2 separate regions of the Homo sapiens genome follow, and region 1 is linked to region 2. Evidence: promoter capture Hi-C in 16 types of primary human blood cells and fetal thymus (Javierre and others, 2016). All regions are on one chromosome and are shown on one strand. The core of a region is centred on a gene start or on the middle of the fragment in contact, and the rest is flanking DNA. Distances in the headings are between cores, read along the strand shown. Region 1 overlaps MARCHF3 (membrane associated ring-CH-type finger 3). Region 2 holds the start of MARCHF3 (membrane associated ring-CH-type finger 3).

Region 1 (3,141 bases), core at 625-3,124, 130 kb after region 2:
GCAAACCACCAACCGAAGTGTTCACATGACCGTGCCAGATGGAAGTGAGCTAACTGCTCAGTGTCTGTGTTTTTAGCCCATCCACTGCTGGTAAAGGATTAATTTGGAGGGAAAATCCAGTTCTGTGTATAAAAAGAATTCCATAACCAGATTCTGTTATTTTCAATTGTTCTGATCCTTGCTGTGAACTTGGGTTGGATACAAATGAGAACCCACATTCTCAAGAGGACCTCTGTCCACCTTGATAGCAGCCCTCTTCATCTTTCCAAGGACTTCTGTGAGCAGAAACACAAAGATGCAAAACACCAATAATTGCTTCATATAACATGTTCATTTTAATCTATGTTTTTAAAAATACAGAAGAGGACAAAGAATACTATAACAAACAGGTGTGTATTCACTACCCAGAATTAACAAACGCCTTCAAAGGAATAGCCTGTTGGGGCCAGGGAGAAAACCGTGGTCTTCACTGATTCATCCCTAGGTGTTCTCAAATAGGGAGGAAATCCAGCCAGGTTTTCCTTAAGCACATGTGGACCAAGAATAAGAGGAAGTTAACAGAAGAGACAGATCATCTTGAAAGATTCCGGACCCTTTCAGCTAACTCCAAATGTACAAACAATTAGTACAGCAAATGTTGACAGCTATGGAGTTCACTTCTTTGAAAGGCAGACAATTAGAAGTTATTCCATGGGTGTTGGGGTGGTGGAAGTCAAGGTGTCTTGGGCTGCTGGCAGAAAAGCTTTGTAAGGGGGAGTCTGAGAGAGGAGAATTGAAATGTCACTGAATAACTACAGCTGGTAATCACCTTCATCCTAAGTCCTGCTGAAATAACAAGGCACAATTAACTCTCAGGAATTGCCCTGTGTTGGGTACAAGGCACCTGGTTGAGCTGAAGGGAGACATAAATTGCAGAAGCCCTGGTGCAGATTTCAGAAGCAGAGTTATAGAATATGCATAACGCTCCCTGCTGAGGGCTCCTGCCAGCCCTCCACAAGCATCTTCAGTTTTAAGTGTCAACAACTGACTTTTAACTCCAAAGAAAGAATACATAGTTTTAAATGACTAATGTGTGAAATATTGAGAACAATACATGATTATAGCTAATCCCTCACACTGCCTAACAATCAGTTGTAAACGAGTGAGCAGAGAGAAGTATCTTCAGTTAGGCACAGGGAGATCGGTGGTTGTTTATTCACTGAATGAGACCTGCTATGCCTGTTTGTGCAAAGAATTTTACTTTCCAGAATAGGCACAGATCTTGATTCCAGTCCAGTGGCATTAATTAACGTGAGTCCATCTATGTTTATCAAGATGTTCACACCCCAGAGTTTTTTCTTCTTAAATTTTGTTTACCCATTTCTGAGGCAAAGGAAAAATATTACATGCAATATTCTTTGCAATCTAGTTTTACAGAGTTAAGGGGTTAGATTTGCACTGTGATGGATATGTGAGAAGAAAGTTATGTTGTGCTTGTATACACTTTATATAATCATCTTATTTCAATGTCTCAGGTATCCTTCTCATAGCAGATATTATCGTATTCTGTAGATAAGGAAGCTGCAACTCAGACCTAAGTCACTCTTCATTGATCTTAAATACTTTCAGCCTCAGGGCTAGTAAGTGGAGAAGGCAAAAGAATAATGCAGGTGGTCCAGGCACGGTGGCTCATGCCTGTTATCCCAGCACTTTGGAAGCCTGAGGCGGGTGGATCACGTGACTAAGATCAGAAGTTCGAGACCAGCCTGACCAACATGGTGAAACCCTGTCTCTACTGAAAACACAAAAATTAGCTGGGCGTGGTGGCAGGCTCCTGTAATCCCAGCTATTTGAGAGGCTAAGCCAGGAGAATCACTTGAACACAGGAAGCAGAGGTTGCAGTGAGTTGAGATCATGCCACTGCAGTCCAGCCTGGGCAACAGAGTGAGACTCCATCTCAAAAAAAAAAAAAAAATTAAAGAAGAATCCAGGTCTATCTCCAAAGCCCACGTTCTTTCCACCACACCTAGTGGCCCAGTCCATTCTGGCTACTATAAATGAAATACTGTAAACTGAATGGCTTATAAACAACAGAAATGTATTTCTCACAGTCCTGGAGGCTGGGAAGTCCAAGGTCAGGGTGCCGACATAGTTGGGTTCTAGTGAGGGTCCTCCTCCTGGTTGCAGACTGCCAACTTCTGTCTATGTCCTCACATGGTAGACGGGAAGAGCTAGTTCTCTGGAGTCTCTTTTGTAAGGGCACAAATCTCAGTCATGGGTGCTCCATCCTCCTGACCTAATCACCTCCCAAAGGCCCCACTTCCTAATACCATCACCTTGAGGGTTAGGATTTCAAAATATGAATTTTGGAGGACACAAACATTCAGACCATTGCACCTGGCTTCCTTCCTGGCTCTAAAGTACTTTCTTGCATTTGCTCATTGGCATGAACCTATGCACACATAGAGCTGAGGGTTTCTTTGCCGATAAGCCTTTCCAAGAAACTACATGTGCTTCAGAAGGGGGAAGATGGAAAAAAAAATTATGAGTAAAGCCCTTATTTCCTCTTGACACCAGATTCGTCTATTAAATCAGAGAGTTAGCAAGGAGGGAAGGATGAAAAGGTGGAGCACAGAGGATTTTTAGGGCAGTGAAACTAGTCTGCACTATAATGGTGGATTCATGTCATTATATCAAAACCCATAGAACGTTCAACACAAGAGTTAACTCTAATGTAAGGCATGAGCTTTGGTGATGATGTGTCAAGGTAGGTTCATCACTAGTGACACATGTACCACTGTGGTGTGGGCTGTTGACAGTAGAGGGGACTGTAGGGGACAGGGGGAGACAGGGATATATGAGAACCCTCTGTGCTTTCCATTCAATTTTGCTGTGAACCAAAAACTGCTCTAAAAAATAAAGTCTGTTTTAAAAAACACCCTGAGCTGTGCCAGATCAAGTGCTGGAAGAGTAGAGTGGCACTTCTTTCCTGTGTCTCTTTGTACTCTAGTTGGAAAGCAAAGCTTTTGGCTACAGCACCCTATCAGAAGCCAGAAAAATCATTCTTCATTTTCAAGTGACTTTACATAGCCTTTCTTTTTTTCTTCTCATTTAGTTACTCTTCCTCTGCATTTGAGTCTTCAGTTTACTGAGTCATTATGT
Region 2 (3,181 bases), core at 622-3,121:
GAGGCGGAGCTTGCAGTGAGCCAAGCCATAGCACTCCAGCCTGGGCGACAGAGTGAGACTCTGCCTCAAAAAAAAAAGAAAAGAAAAGAAAGAACTTAAATATGGACAATGTTTGCATTACTGAGCAATTTTTCAGGGTCTGCAAAGGGCTATCCCTGCCCTAGTCTCCTGCCCTTCTGACAACCTTCCTATGGACCTTTTCCCATTGAGAAATGGAGCTGAGGAGACAGAATTGAAACTCAAACCAGGCCAGAGCTCACCTAAGAGGGGCCATTTCACTCCTTTTCAGCCACCAGCCCTTTACATTCCTTCTCCCTGGTGACCTCATCAGAACCTTCTCATGAGAGGTCAGCTATGATGCAAGACCTTATAGAGGCCAGATGGCATTGAAATAACACCTTGCAGCTCCCTTACATGTGAATAATTGCCCATACTGAGAGACTAAAACCCTTAGGACTTCTGGGACCTGAATGAGGCAATGGTCTGAAGTGGGCTTGCGCTGGAAGCAAGACGTAAGTGGTGAAGGTGAGTATCAGGGCAGCAGGTTGACCCCTTTCTTGTTATGAGCATGCATTCCTTCATTCTTACTAATACGGGTTAGGTGCCTACCCATGGCAAGAGCAGTTCTAGGCAGGGAGAGGCCCCTACCCACCCACAGCTGACGGTCTAGGGCTTGTTTACATTCTAGGTTTCAGCGGGAAAGCAAGAACACCCAACTCCCTGCTTTTGATTCTATGTTAGTAGCTCAGCGCGCCTGTGCGAGCACGTGCTGCAGCCAGGGTAGGGGCTCAGAAACTGGTTGACAAGATGAGCAGTGGGGTCCTAGGGGGTTGGGCGGGAAGGGCCCACAAGGCCATATTCCAGGCTGTTCGGCTGCGAGTGACCCCTGAGAGGTCGGGATCTCCGAGCTCGTCCGATGTCTCCATCCCAGCCAGGAGCTTGCGAAGGGGAAGGAGGGCGGAAGCAGAGTGGGACAGATGTGGTTCGTTCTGGGGCTTCCTGTCCACGAAGATGGATAATTCTAGCGACCCGCCTGGGATTTTGGAATCCTGGCGGACCCAAAAGACAGCAGAAGTCACCGCAGAGGATGCCACCCCGCACGGCAGCCCGCCCAGAGCGACGGTCTCACAGGTTCCGGCGCCGTCGAGCGCCCAAGCCTCCTGTTGGCCGCCAGCTGTGTCCGCGACGCGCTGGGTCGGGAGGAGGAGACCCGAGGCGCCGGTAAGTCCCCCGCTGCAGGTGGCCCGGAGGGCAGGGGTGAGGACGGGGACGTGTACTGAACTTTGGGAGGTTTGCGGGGCTGGAGTTTTGTTTCAGAGATAGCCAGATCGAGATCAGAACGTTTTCCAGAGAGCCCAGGTTTCCACTTGTGGCTGGGCGACCCGGTCCGGAATTCATCCTTTCTCGGCCCTCAGCTTCCTCCGGGCGGGGTTCCGATGGGGCAGCTAAGTTCCGCGCCTCCTGCCGGTGCCAGATACTGGCGTGTCGACCCGCGCTGCGGTTGGCTTCTTGCTCCACAGCGCTATGCGCGCGGCGGCTCCGAGGGCTCCTGGTCTCTCTCAGCCAACGGCCTTCTGGGGCCGCCGCCTCCCTCTAGAGCTGCTCGGGTCCCATTGCAGAGAGTCCCGCAGCGCCCGCCGGCAGCCACGGCACTTCGCAATAACCAACTTCCCCGCCGCCGGCGCGTCCCGCCAGCCTGCCCTCGGCCGCAGGCGACTGGACGGCGGTTACGGGGCGGTCCCAGCGCCACCACGACTGGCTGTCGGCTCCGCCAGTCATGGGCTGATGACGCCCCGGGGCTGGCTCCGCCCCTAGCGGCAGCCCCGCCTCCCCTCCAGAGCCTGGTCGGCTTAGCCCTGCTTTCCGCCTCACTCGTTGAGCAGGTCCGTGAATTGTCAGCGCGCTGTGGGCGACTGTGTGGCCGCGGCGGCCGCCAGGCTTGCCGCACTCCCCCTGAGGTGCCCGCCGGAACCAATGTGCCCTGGTCCACTGGGCCGTGAGCAGCCACCGACTGGGGGCAACTTGGCACTTAGAACCGCAGCAGGGACGTCGGTTTGCTATCGGGACTCGGCGAGGACGGTGAGTGGCCGCGCGCCGGGCTAGCGGCTCCTCTCGGCGCGGTTCGGCGGCGGCGAGAGGGGACGGGACGCGTCCTGGCGCTCGGCGGTCCGTTCGTCCGAGCGTGACCGCTGTGGGGAGGTCAGGGCTGGGCGGGATTTACTCCGTGCCAATATCCCCACTCCCGAACTTCTTCTTGTCAAAGCATCCCAACTCCGCCCGGGACGCGGTTCCAGTCCGCACCAACTTGGCGTAATTGACATGGGTAGGTGGGGCCGGGACGCGTCCCCTGCCCCTCTGCGGCAACGACATGGAGCGCTGGGGCGGCCTCCGCGCCCGCGGCGTGCGGACCGCGGTTCCTGAAAAATTACCCGCGCTGTGCGGTACGGTAAGACCCGGCGTCCGCGTCTGGATCTCAAGGCTGAGCGAGCGCTCATCGGGCTCAAGGTGGGTCTCAGCGCCAGAGAACTGGAGTACCAGCCGGGTTCTGTAGCGGGGGCTTCAGTGCTCTGCAGCTACTGAGAGGAATTGAGAGCACTGCTGGGCTTTGAACTTTCTAAAGTAATTGCTTTCTATTAGCACTTGAATCCATGACCCTCCTGAGGTGCTCGGACCTCCACATCCACCCGCAAGGGGTGTCCGAAGGACTTCGTTAGGACCAGGCGGGAGCTGCTGTCGGTTCTGGTGCCCAGTGCCTTGGAGAATCCTAGAGGCTGCGAAAGGGATTGCCAGCCTGGTCGGTTGGTGTTTGTTTGAGCACCTGCGTGTTTAAGTGATGAAGTTGAGTCAGGAATTGACAGCAGAGAACTCAAGGTTAAACCTGACACTCCGTTTGTGACTCGGTCTGGGTTAGATTGTTTTCCCCCCTTAATGGTAAGGGGGTAAAAGCAGCTTGTTTTTCTGAGACCAACTACATGCATGTAGTTTATATTATGTGCGGAATAAACAGAATTCAATACGATATTTTCTTACAATTCTTATTTGACATGAATAAGAGCTTTTGAAAATACTAGACAGAAACAGGTCCAGAATTTGGGGATGTTTAGACCTTTGAAAATACATGAAAATGTTGAGATATATAGTTCTGTATGTGTATATGAAGATGTAGATGCGCATATACACA

What was found. The method cuts DNA at HindIII sites, captures the fragments that hold promoters and counts their contacts. A CHiCAGO score of 5 or more calls a contact.
Region 1: a fragment that was not itself captured here is called in contact with the fragment with the promoter of MARCHF3 in region 2 in 6 of 17 cell types (naive B cells, erythroblasts, total B cells and 3 more); the score reaches 13.7 in naive B cells.

What each region holds. Positions count from the first base shown.
Region 1 is chr5:126,899,517-126,902,657 of GRCh38, reverse strand. The region is part of intron 3 of MARCHF3 (membrane associated ring-CH-type finger 3); the gene reads left to right. Among named protein-coding and RNA genes, the nearest start is that of LMNB1, 120 kb to the right of the region's middle. The HindIII fragment of the contact is 2,260 bases long and covers 745-3,004 here.
Region 2 is chr5:127,029,248-127,032,428 of GRCh38, reverse strand. It overlaps MARCHF3 (membrane associated ring-CH-type finger 3), which reads left to right and starts at 1,871. Exons shown (of 5, transcript NM_178450.5): 1 at 1,871-2,079. It overlaps LOC105379163 (a long non-coding RNA gene), which reads right to left and starts at 1,086. Exons shown (of 2, transcript XR_007058920.1): 1 at 1-1,086. RefSeq lists an enhancer at 989-1,533 and a silencer at 1,530-1,909. The HindIII fragment of the contact is 7,560 bases long and covers 1-3,181 here.